3 separate regions of the Homo sapiens genome follow, and regions 1 and 2 are each linked to region 3. The links are contacts of gene promoters, found by promoter capture Hi-C in human tissues and cell types (Jung and others, 2019). All regions are on one chromosome and are shown on one strand. The core of a region is centred on a gene start or on the middle of the fragment in contact, and the rest is flanking DNA. Distances in the headings are between cores, read along the strand shown.

Region 1 (4,054 bases), core at 953-3,452, 500 kb after region 3:
CGGTTAGACATACGATCTTAGGCTTTTAGAACTATTTGGAGCCATACAGTCTCCAAAAAATTTAATATGATGATAAAACTGGGTTCAAATGAGCCTGGTTATATCCATATTAACATTTATTGAGCACCCATTATGTGCAAATGCTGTACTCAGTTCTGGGAACATGAAAGCAAGCAAGCTGCAATTGCCATGTCCAAGGACACAGTCTACTTGGAGACAGAGGCATAAACAATAGTTGCCCCTTATTTGCAGTTTCACTTTATGATTTCAATTACCCACAGTACAGTACAATGAGGTATTTTGAGTAAGAGAAAGAAAGAGCCTACAATCACATAACTTTTTTTACAGTATATTGTTATAATTGTTCTATTTTATTATTAGTTAATATTTTACTGTGCCTGATTATGAATTAAATTATATCATAGGAATGTATGCATAGGAAAAAACATTGTACATATAGGGTTTAGTACTATCTTCAGTTTCAGGCATCCCCTGTGGGTCTGGGAACATATCCCCCCCTGACAAATGGAATTTCTGTAAGCAACCAATTACAACACAGGTTTTTTTTTGTTTTTTGTTTTTTGTTTTTTTTTGAGATGGAGTCTCGCTCTGTCACCCAGGCTGGAGTGCAGTGGCATGATCTTGGCTCACTGCAAGCACCGCCTCCCAGGTTCATGCCATTCTCCTGCCTCAGCCTCCTGAGTAGCCGGGACTACAGGCGCCCGCCACCACGCCCGACTAGTTTTTTGTATTTTTAGTAGAGATGGGGTTTTACCGTGTTAGCCAGGATGGTCGCGATCTCCTCACCTCGTGATCCACCTGCCTTGGCCTCCCAAAGTGTTGGGATTACAACACAGTTTTGTAGTTTCCTCTATAACAAGACTGTAAACTGTCATAACAACTTAGAGGAGGGAATAATACATTTTATTTAGAATATCAAAAAAGGCCCTCACTGCAAATTACCTTTTAAAGTATGAGTTCATTGGGTAGGGAATATTATAGGAAGAGAGAATCTCAGTCTGAGAGATTGTCTCAGTGCATCAGGAGCAGAAGGTTTAAGGACACAGCTTTAGGAGGCAGTTCACAGGAAGGCAGGTGCCAGATTTAGAAGGATCTTAAAATCTGTGCTGAAGTGTTTGGACTTCATCTGCATGGTAGTGGAAACCACGGAATGTTTTTCAGCAAGAAAGTAACATGTTGGAATAATTTTCACTACAGTAACTCAGAGAGACAGTACAGTGAATTGTTTAAAAAAAAAAAAAGTGGATTGTGACTGGTCTATGTTCAAATCCCAGCTATGTCACTCAGCAGCTACATGACCTTGTACAAGCTGTTTAACCTCTGTTGCTTCAATTGCCTCATCTTTAAATAGTAAGAGTAATAGAAACATATCTTTTAAGTTGTTGTAGGACTTTAATGAGTTAGTCCACATAAAGCCCTTTAAACAGAATCTGGCACAAAGTAGGTTCTAAATAAGTGTTCATTGTTTTAAGAATAGAAGGTAATTCAAGGATATTGAAAGGAATCACAGAGACCTGTTTGGAGGCCCCTATACTGCTCTAGACAAGAACTAATAAAGGCTTGAAGGAAGGCAATGACATAGGGAAAGAGGGAGGAAGGGATAGAATCTGGGAATGGTTCAGAAACTGGGTCTTACCCACTTCTCAGATGTCATCTTTCTCCAGTCCTACTTTGTTTCACCAAGCCCTGCAAACACTAGCCTGCATTCTCTCCGTTACATATGCCAAGAACATTCCCACCACAGTGCCTTTGCATCTGCTGTTCCTTCTGCTCAGAGTGCTCTTCCCCTAAATCAGTGGTGTCCAATCTTTTGGCTTCCCCGGGCCACAAGGGAAGAATAATTCTCTTGGGCCACTCATAAAATACACTAACACCAATGGTAGCTAAGGAGCTGAAAAAAAGAAAATCACAAAAACATCTCATAATGTTTTAAGGAAGTTTACGAATTTATATTGGGCCACATTCAAAGCTGTCATGGGCTGCCTGTGACCCACAGGCCATGGATTGGACAAGCTTGCCCTAAATCTTCCTTCTTCTCAATGCCAACTGCAATGCTGCTTAATGAAGAGGCCTTTCCTGACCATGCTAAACAAAGCAGCACCTCTGTCACTTCACAACACTTAGTATGTGAATTGCTTTCTTTTTTTTCTTTTTTTTTTTTTTTTTTTTTCAGACAGAGTCTCACTCTGTCACCAGGCTGGAGTACACTGCTGCAATCTCAGCTCACTGCAACCTCCGCCTCCCGGGTTCAAGCGATTCTCCTGCCTCAGCCTCCCAAGTAGCTGAGACTACAGGTGCATGCCACCACGCCTGGCTAATTTTTGTATTTTTAATAGAGATGGGGTTTCACCATGTTGGCCAGGATGGTCTCAACTTCCTGACCTCAAGATCCACCCACCTTGGCCTCCCAAAGTGCTGGGATTATAGGCATGAGACACCACGCCCGGCCATGAATTGCTTTTTTATTGGCTAATTAAGTTGCCTAGGTCTTTACTACTTACCTTCTTACTGATTTTCCTAATTACTTATTACTTCTTCACTGTTTCCTATCTTCTATATGAATATAAGCTCCTAAAGCCAGCAACTCTGCCTTATTCACCACAAAATTTCTAGTACCTAGGAAAGTACCTACCTACATAGGATGACCACTTAGTGAATAATTTTTGGTTGATTTACTCATTGGTTTGGACAAAGTAAGACACATAAGTAATGATAGAATGACTTGGATCAGATCTCATGTATCCTGAATCCCAGTCTTACTCTCTCCTCACTAATGTTACCAGTCTTCAAATATCTGACAGGCTGCCATAAGAAAGTTAGTGTGAATGTAGTCTGTCCTTCTCCAAAGAGAATAGCTAGGACTGAGTGGAAATTACAGAAAGACAAATTTCTGCTCAACAGAAGAAAAAGTTTTCCAGTAACATGAGTTGTGCAACACTGAAGGAGGCTGCCTTGAAATTCTGTGCTTGATACATACATGAGGTCCACAGGGAGATTAGATAATGTATCTGTAGCATTTGGCATTTCTTGATTGGAGAGGAAATTAGCCCAGATGACCTCTAAGGTCTCCATGTGTAATTCCCTGAGTGAATAAATGCGCAGCCAATAAGGGAATAATGAGTACAGCAAGAATATACTAAATATAATATGGATCCTCAGCTTTATTCATTTAGATTATTTCTTGGTTTTGATTGTTTATTTGCATTATTAAATAAAATATAAAAGAAGCTTTCTGATTTTCATTATGCACACAGCAATGAAAGAACCTTCTAAATGTAATCGGAGAAATAACTCATCATCACACTGATATGAACACTACGTGTTCTTCATGCTAGACAGTTTCCTAACTGAGACAAAATGTGTCACCTGTGATGATTCAATTTATTCATTCAATAACTATTACTTCAGGGACTACTATGTCCCAAACACTATGGTAATTAAAGAAAAGATGGCATGAGAGGACTTCAAAAGGCTTGTGGAAAAATTGAATTAAAAGATAAAATTAAAAAATAAGCCTTATTTCTCAACGTAAGCTTCAAGATTAAGACACCTTTGTAGGAGATAATACCAACAATGCGGTCCATCCTTAAGGAAATGAGGGTCCCAAGAGTTGAACCAAGTCAATGCAGTCTTTTTTACATTATTTATTAAATAAAATGGATACCCTTTACAGATATTTTAAGATTAAGAAAAAGAAGAAAGATGGAGCCAAATCAGAAATATAAGGTGGATTGTATTAGTTTGTTTTCACAGTGCCATAAAGAAATACCCAAGACTGAGTCATTTATAAAAGAAAGAGGTTTAATTGACTCACACAGTTACACATGGCTGGGGAGGCCTTAGGAAACTTATAATCATGGCAGAGGGGAAAGCAGGCACATATTAACTACATGGAGGCAAGTGACAGAGTGTGTGTGTGTGTGTGTGTGTGTGTGTGTGAAAGAGGAACTGTCAAACACTTATAAAACCATCATGTCACATGAGAACTAACTCACTATCATGAGCACAGCATGGGGAAACCCCACCTTATGCT
Region 2 (4,040 bases), core at 126-2,625, 350 kb after region 3:
CCACATTTATGACAATGGTTTCATAAGATTATAATGCTATAATTTTTACTGTATCTTTTCTATGTTTAGATACATGAACGCTTACCAATGCATTACAGTTGCCTGTAGTATTTAGTACAGTAACATTCTGTACAGGTTTGTAGCCTGGGAGAAATAGGTTGTACCATCTACGTTTATGTAGTACATTCTATGATGGTCATATAAGGACAAAATCACCTAACAACGCATTTCTCAGAATGTATCCCCATCGTTAAGTGACACATGACTGTATAGTGAATTCTCTTTAAGAAACAGTGCTTGTTTAATAGTTTCTTAATGTTTCTGGATAAGTTAAGTTCCCCTTAGTAAAGGGAATCAAAACACATATTTATAGAGTGCCTATTTTGCTACATTTTGAGGAAACAAAAACAATCATGCATGTTCCATGCTTCTGTGGAATTGCCTCTGTAACCTCTCTGTAGTATGGACATTTAAAGATGCTAGTGAAATAAATTGCTATTGGTGTCATAATAGAAGTATTTGCACAGTTCTAGAGTGAGGTTAATTTTATAGACTTCATAGAGAAATAGAATATTGAACCGTGTTTTGCAAAATATGTTGGAATAAAGGGAAAAGGGGTATTCTAGACAAAAGTCACAGCATGGATAGTGGAATGGAGGAATGAAGTATGTTGAATTGAGAAACATCCAGAGGGACGATTATGGTAGGAATGGAGAGAGGAGGAAATGGAAAATGTGTTGATACTGAGGTGGGAGAAGTAGACACAGAGAAGATTTTGCAATGTCTTGTACTAAAAGACTTGTATTTTATCTTCTAGGCAACCAGTAGTCATTTCAAAGCTTTGATCCAGGATGCAGCATAGTGAGTTTTACATTTTAGGATGATTCCTCTCATTATAGTATAAATAGTAGATTCAAGATGGGCATATTGGAGTAATAAAAGGACAATTTCAAGACTCTCATAACAGTTCATGTGAGAAGGACTGAATACCTTAACTAAGAATCAGTGGAGATCAATGAATACAAAAGATGAGAGGGAGCTGGTCTTAAGGATCTGTTAACAGATCTTGACCATAGCTCAAACAAGAAGGATAAAGGAATGAAGGTGTCTTGGATAGCTAAGAGGTTTCTGAGTTAGAATACCAATGCCAAAATCTTCTATGACATCCTACCAATCCATAAAAGGTGAGTCTAGAGATTCTCAACAGATATTGTATGGCTGCCCAGATATTTTACTGATGTCCAGTGCAGCTTATATTTGAAAGACGTAAGTTTCAATTAAAAAAAACTATAAGATCTTTCAAAAACACTCAGAAAGTGTTTTATATTCTTCCTGAGTGACAGTTACATTTCAACCATCCATGACATTTTTCATCATTCTTGCAAGCATAGATAGAAATTATACTGGCTTTGAATTGTCATTCTGAATTGCACCAAATGAGATAATGGCTACTCACTCTGATTGCTCTATAGATTTTATAGGCAGCTGATACTACTGAATTTTTAGTTCTAAAACAAGAAAATTGTTAAACTTTTGAGCTAAGAAATTTTGCTCATTTTTGTCTATTTTTCTCTGCTTGCTAGAGTTTTATAAACTCAGGACTTCCTTTACCTCAGCTCTAATGCAATGAGGTTCTTGATTTCCTAAGCAACTAAGCAAGAAACCTTAGAATGTACCTTACTTGCTTCTTACTGTCAAATCACTTAAGAGTGTTGCTGATCGTTAAAGCCTACAACTCAGGCTTTTTTTTTCTTTTTTCTGAAAGGTATATTGATAGAAAGGTCAAGCTGGCATTAACTAATAATTCCATTATTCATTGAGAAATTATGTCTTATCTGTACTGAGTGAAGTGATTTTAGTACAGGAGACAATGTACAAGGATTTTCCTACTTCTGTTGAAGGTGATGTGCATGTGAGTGTTACATACTTCTGCTTGTGGGCTTCAGGTACAACAAATCACTTTGTGTCCCAATATGGTAACCTGTAATTATCCTCAGCTTGGATGCAATAACCTTTACAACAAACATCTTCAATTTCTTATTTTTCACAGCGCTCTACCAGGGGAATGAGTTAAAGGTGGGTATGTTTGTATAAAGGTATCTAAGCAGAATTTGGAGTAGTAATTTGGCAAAATTTTCCAAGACAGTAGTAGTATGAGAAGGGTCATGACAACATTTATGGACTTGAAGATATACTAAGCATTTCCGGTCTGAGTGGCTTCTGCCATAAAGTTGACTGCATCAAGGCAACTGGTTAACTTGAACCACTTAGGAGGTATAGGTGTTATACAAATGCAGTGTACTGTGCTTGGTTGGTACCATTTCTGCTTAATACTACTTACTTCAAATTCTGTATTTTCTTGCATTTGTAATACTTACAGGCTTTCTTTCCTTTAAATGTATATTACTTCTTTCTTGACATAAGAGTTTAATTATTTCTAGGGGTTTTTTATTAGTTGCTGTTAAAACCATCTGATAAATCTAGAAGGTGATTTCAGTATCCTTTGAAATTTTTTTTCATTTTTGCCCTTCAATTAAACAATTAAATGTACTGAATTTTCCTAGGTTATTCTTACATGCAAAACACCATATCAGTCAACATGGAAAACACAAAGTTGTATAAGACATAGTCGCTATCTTCAAGGGTCTTGTAATCTAGTAAGAACAGCAGTGAAGTGCACAAATAACAATAATTAAAGGCATACGGTGGTAAAAAATTGAAGGAGGATGAGGCAGGAAGATTGCTTGAGCCTAGAAATTCAAGGTTACAGTGAGCTATGATTGCACCACTGCACTTCAGCCTGGGCAATAGAGTGAGATCCCGTTTCTATTTTTCTTAATTGAAAATGATATATAAATAAAATGCCATAAAACATAAAAGAATAAGATTAACTATTAGTAAAGATAGGTGCAGGAAAAATGTTTATAGGAGAGTTGACATTTGATGTGGACATTGAAAGATATGCAAAATTTTGATATGATAGCTTGTTGAAGCACAACAAGTGAAGAACAATAGTTGTAGTGATGGGCATAGATAAATGGTAGATTCAGGGAAGATCTTGTGAGTTCTTGAATGCTGTGCTAAAAACTTTGATTTCTATTCTGTTTATGCTTAAAAACAAAAACAAAACAACAACAACAAAAACACAAATATCCCAGGCTTAAGCAAGAAGGTGACATGATCATATCTCTTTTATTAAAAGTTCATTTTGGGGCTTCTGGTTTTACCTCTAACATGTAAAAATCTTGGTAATGTCACTTCCAGTCTTACAACAAGGAAAACACTGCACAAATTGAAAACCAGTTATTTTTCTTGCACCCCTCAGAGAATTGAGGTCACAGGGCAAACTGCACCCTGATATCTGGAAAGACAGGCAAATATAGACTAAGACAGTTTTTCTTCCAAAAATATTTCACTGCCCACTATAATTCTTAGAAGAATCCTCCTTTATTCATCAATAAATGCTTCTAACCTTAAAATAATCTGTCAATGTTTTCTCTTTAGTGGTTTGCAGAGACTAACATAATGCCTAGAATAGAATAGATGCTCAATAAATGTTTGTTGAATGAGTGAATAAAAGACAATCTTTTAAATTAGCAATTTAATTTTTTTCTGAGCTTGCACCTCATCAATTAAAAAGAAATCAGTGATTCTCTATTCTCTATTTATTTATTTATACAAGTTAGACATAATCTACCATTAAATAAAATGCATAATTTAAAATAACTAAAATATAGAAAAATTTGAAGTATCAGATGAAAAGGCATCAATGGAACTTATACCTTTTCTATACCTCCCTGCATTGTGTATTTTATACACCTCACTGTAGGAAATACTGATCTAAGGAAGGATTATTGCACATTATTGAACAATCTAAGGGGTGATTATTCCACCCCTTACACTTTTTTTCAAAGTTCTAGCAAATAAGTAATCATGGACCAGCTCAATAGTAGTAGTTTAAGTCTACTTAAAGTGATTTTTAATATAGTGGTTTTCCTCAAAAACATTTAACTTTAACTCCGGTGATGTAATGTTCAGCA
Region 3 (3,847 bases), core at 1,241-3,740:
AGTCTGACTCTGTATTCTGAGGCCACCACTCCTTTTTGTGCATAACTAGACCAGAACTAATTTTACTCATTCTTCTACTAATGTAAGCCCCATAGGAGAGAGAGAGTAAGCTGTTCTTAAAAGCATGAGACTATTGAACACTTATTTATGGTGCCACATTAATATTAAGAAAAAGTTTATCATTGACTATGGGCTAGGCATGATTCATAGTATTTCCATTCTCCCAACAACCATGCAAAAAAAAAAAAAAAAAAAAAGCAGCATTATTTTCATTGTGCTGACAGGAAAAGTGAAGCTCAGGAAAACTCAGAGGCTTGCTCAGTGTGGGAGTCAAGATCTGAAGCCCAGTCTGTTGAGCTCCAAAGCCCTGTGTGTTTTCTGATGTGCCTTGCTGGCACTGCTAGTGGAACACCCAGGGTCCCCAGAGATGTGAGTCCTTAGTCCTCTAAAGGCAAAGTACAGAGGTTCAAAAGAATATGGCTGCCTACTCATACTATGCCTCAGGGAGCAAAGACTGCTTCATTTCCAAACAAAGCCTTGGCCTCCCTGCCATCCAGCTAGGTGACCTGAAGAGCACTCTGATTCAGACAGCGATCCTCTTTAGATGGCTCTCCAGGGTTGGTGGGACTGAAAATTCTAGGGGTAAGGACTGTCGCCTTAGGAGAGTCATTAAAAAGGGTTGTGAGGAGGGGTCCCCTGGAGTCAGAGGCTGGTAGAGCTCTGGAGAGAGCATGTGGGGAGCTCACCCATGACAGGGGAGCTGTCTCCTTCAGCAGCGTGGCTGACTCCAGACCCCCAAGAAGGCTGTGGATTACTCCCACAGTCAGCCCAACCAGCAGCAAGGAGTTGGCTGGGTGGTCTTGATACAGGAGGAGGAATAAGGGATTGTCACCTGGGATTCAGGCATGGCTTTCAGGGAGTATCCACAAACCCTCAGGGATTGCATGTAAAATTTTATGTACATGCCATATGCATTTTGCCCCAGGAAGAGGACTCACAGCTAATTCTCAAAAGGACCTATCACCCCTAATTTTTAAGAACCACTGAAATTAATATTTTCATCTGCTCCTCTCTTGCACTATTCAGCACTTCCACCTCATTAAACATTTATATATATATTATATATATTTCTATAATATATATATATAATTAATTAATTCCCTAAACTTTGCAGAAAAAAAATCGAAGCCCAGAGAGGGTAAGTATCTTGCCCAAGTTTGCACAGCTGATGGTCAGGATTGGGATTAGCAGCACTTCCCTGGTCAAGTGAAGCACGATTTCAGGTGGGAAATCTTGCCCGGTCAACTTGACAAATGAAGACAAAGTGATCCCTCCAGACTAATAATAATGTTTTGCAACCATTTTCAAGTCCAGTCATAGAATCCCCTACGTTGCTTGTTTTCAGGGCAGTGTGGGTTGCTTCCCCAGGATACAGGTAGAGGTCACTAAAAGGATAGTTTTCTACTCAAAGAGCCAGAACTCCAGCCCTTGCCTTCCCCTGCCGTAGCACTCGGGCCGGCCCTCCAGTTACCTGAGTTTGCCTGACTTTAACCAACTCCTCTTCCCTTCCCTCCTCCCTTCTCCAGCGGGCTCTCCTTCCAGCTTCCTCCCGGGCTGCAATTCCTCTGCCTAGGTGCCTCCGTCCAGCTCCGGCTTCTGGCCCGGAGGCTGCTCATCTGCCCCTACCCCCGCTGACTTTTGGGAGGAGCAACACCTTTCAGGTCAGCATTGCTAACCCTAAACTTTCCCCGCCGGATGCCCGCGAGGCTGCTGCGGCGGCGGCTGCTGCTGATGGGAGAGTCTCGAGTCCGGCTTTCATCACATCACCTGTCTGCGCCCCTTCCCCCTCCCCGCTCTTTTTTTCTTTTCTTTTTATTTTGACGCAAATAATTTGCATTCTGAGAATCCCACAATCAACGCCGAAACTCATGCTCAAGGATACAGGTGAAGATGCCTTTGACAAAGGCGAATGCGAGCCGAGTGCAGTTTGTAAAAGCTGGGGTTGGGGGCAGTGGTGGAGGCAAAGCACCTTAAGAGTATTTTTTAGCCCCTCTGAGAAGGGACATCCGGGCGGGAGGCGGGCGGATCCCGGGCTTCCCCGCCGGCTGCCGACTCTGGCTCCTGGCTGGCGTTCTCTCCAGGAGCCCGCGCCGGTGGCCCCGCTCTCCCCTTCAGCACGCGGGCCTCGAACCCGCATCCCGGAGAGCGGCCGCCCGCGCAGCCCCTGCCGCGCGCCGTCGGAGGCGGCCTCAGCTCGCCATGGGTACTCACTTTTGCCAGGGAGCAAAGTCTGCCACATCAGTCGATGAGTACTTCCTGCACGAGGACATGAAGCTCCATTGTGTGGAAAGCTGTTTCGCGAACGGTCGGTAAAATCCAGAAAGAGGGAGAAGGAGTGAGTAAGGCAGAAAGCCCAGCCCAGAAAACCGGCGTCTGGGGATTTCAGCCTCCGCTCCCCGGTCCCCAGCCCGGTGGCTCTGTGAGAAGAAGCTCAACTCGGTGCACTTGTTCACTCTTTCTTCATGAGAGGAGGAGTCAGTGTTGCAACATTTATGTTCCTTGCTGGAGGCAAAACAGTGATTTTCTTCAGCATGCAAAACGTCCAGAGCCTGCCAGTTTTAGAAGGCGACGGAGGTAGTTGGGGGAGCTGGAATCCTGCGAAGACCTGAAGAAACAACTGATTCCCCCCAGATCGGTTTTGCATGATTAGGGCCACATATCTTTCATTGAGACTGTACCAGAAAATAGACAGACAAAACAATAATAAAAATGACTTAGTGAGTTGAATGACCTCAAAGATGATATTTTTCCAGGCAGCCAAGATGTGGAGTGTCTCCGTGTCAAATTTCTTTCCTTATTTCTGAGTAACATTGAACAGCAGCTATATTTGAGAGGTTCTCCAGGGATTTGAATTGCACCTTGCCTGAGGAGTCAGATAGAAAGGAGCAAAAGAAGATAGTCAGTGACCTAAGAAGGTTTTGCTTTTTTTTTTTTTTAATACCCAAAGCGCAAACTTCTAGTGTGCTGTGTTTATTCTCTGCCATATGAATATAATAAACATTGGCGGTGCCTAAATAGCCCCACTTCTGTTGTTTTCCACAAATAAAGAATTTATCTTTTCTAATGGGCTGCATGTTGTTCTGACTTTTCTTCTTCTTGAAACCACACACAACCGCCTTTTCTCTTGCAAAAACAAAAACCCCACATTTAACAGTGCTGAAACAAATAATAGCACCTGCCTGAATCAAATAGTTATTTCTGACTATGTATGTTGCTGGTGTCATTTGATGCCATAATAATTAATGCATCCGATTGTTACACAACCCAGAGGGCCACCAAGGAAATACTTTAAACCAAGGTTACTGAGTTTTTTTTTTTGTTTGTTTTTGTTTGTTTTTTTGAGACAGAGTCTCGCTCTGTCGCTCAGGCTGGATTGCAGTGACCCCATCTCGGCTCACTGGAACCTCTGCCTCCTGGATTCAAGCAATTGTCCTGCTTCAGCCTCCCGAGTAGGTGGGACTACAGGCGCGTGCCACCATGTCCGGCTAGTTTTTTGTATTTTTAGTAGAGATGAGGTTTCACCCTGTTAGCCAGGATGGTCTTGATTTCCTGACCTCATGATCCACCCACCTTGGCCTCCTGAAGTGCTGGGATTACAGGCGTGAGCCACTGCGCCTGGCCGTTTTTTTTTTTGTTTTGTTTTAAGTTATTGAAACATGAGGCTTTCCCCTTTGATTTGACTGCTACTCTGGATAACTGGGAAATCACAGTTAGCAGTGAGCATTTGCCAAGCCACAGGAAGCCATTGAAAATCCCATGATGCTTTGGTGATCCTTTTGGACTGGAA

What was found. The method cuts DNA at HindIII sites, captures the fragments that hold promoters and counts their contacts. A contact is called where the count stands out against the background at its distance.
Region 1: a contact is called between a fragment that was not itself captured here and the fragment with the promoter of PRLR in region 3, in 1 of the 25 tissues and cell types used here (heart left ventricle).
Region 2: a contact is called between a fragment that was not itself captured here and the fragment with the promoter of PRLR in region 3, in 1 of the 25 tissues and cell types used here (H1 embryonic stem cells).

The regions. Positions count from the first base shown.
Region 1 is chr5:35,732,540-35,736,593 of GRCh38, forward strand. The region is part of intron 21 of SPEF2 (sperm flagellar 2); the gene reads left to right. Among named protein-coding and RNA genes, the nearest start is that of SPEF2, 120 kb to the left of the region's middle. The HindIII fragment of the contact is 3,407 bases long and covers 500-3,906 here.
Region 2 is chr5:35,583,235-35,587,274 of GRCh38, forward strand. No RefSeq gene overlaps it. Among named protein-coding and RNA genes, the nearest start is that of SPEF2, 33 kb to the right of the region's middle. The HindIII fragment of the contact is 5,578 bases long and covers 1-4,040 here.
Region 3 is chr5:35,227,997-35,231,843 of GRCh38, forward strand. It overlaps PRLR (prolactin receptor), which reads right to left and starts at 2,491. Exons shown (of 10, transcript NM_000949.7): 1 at 2,272-2,491. The HindIII fragment of the contact is 8,302 bases long and covers 1-3,847 here.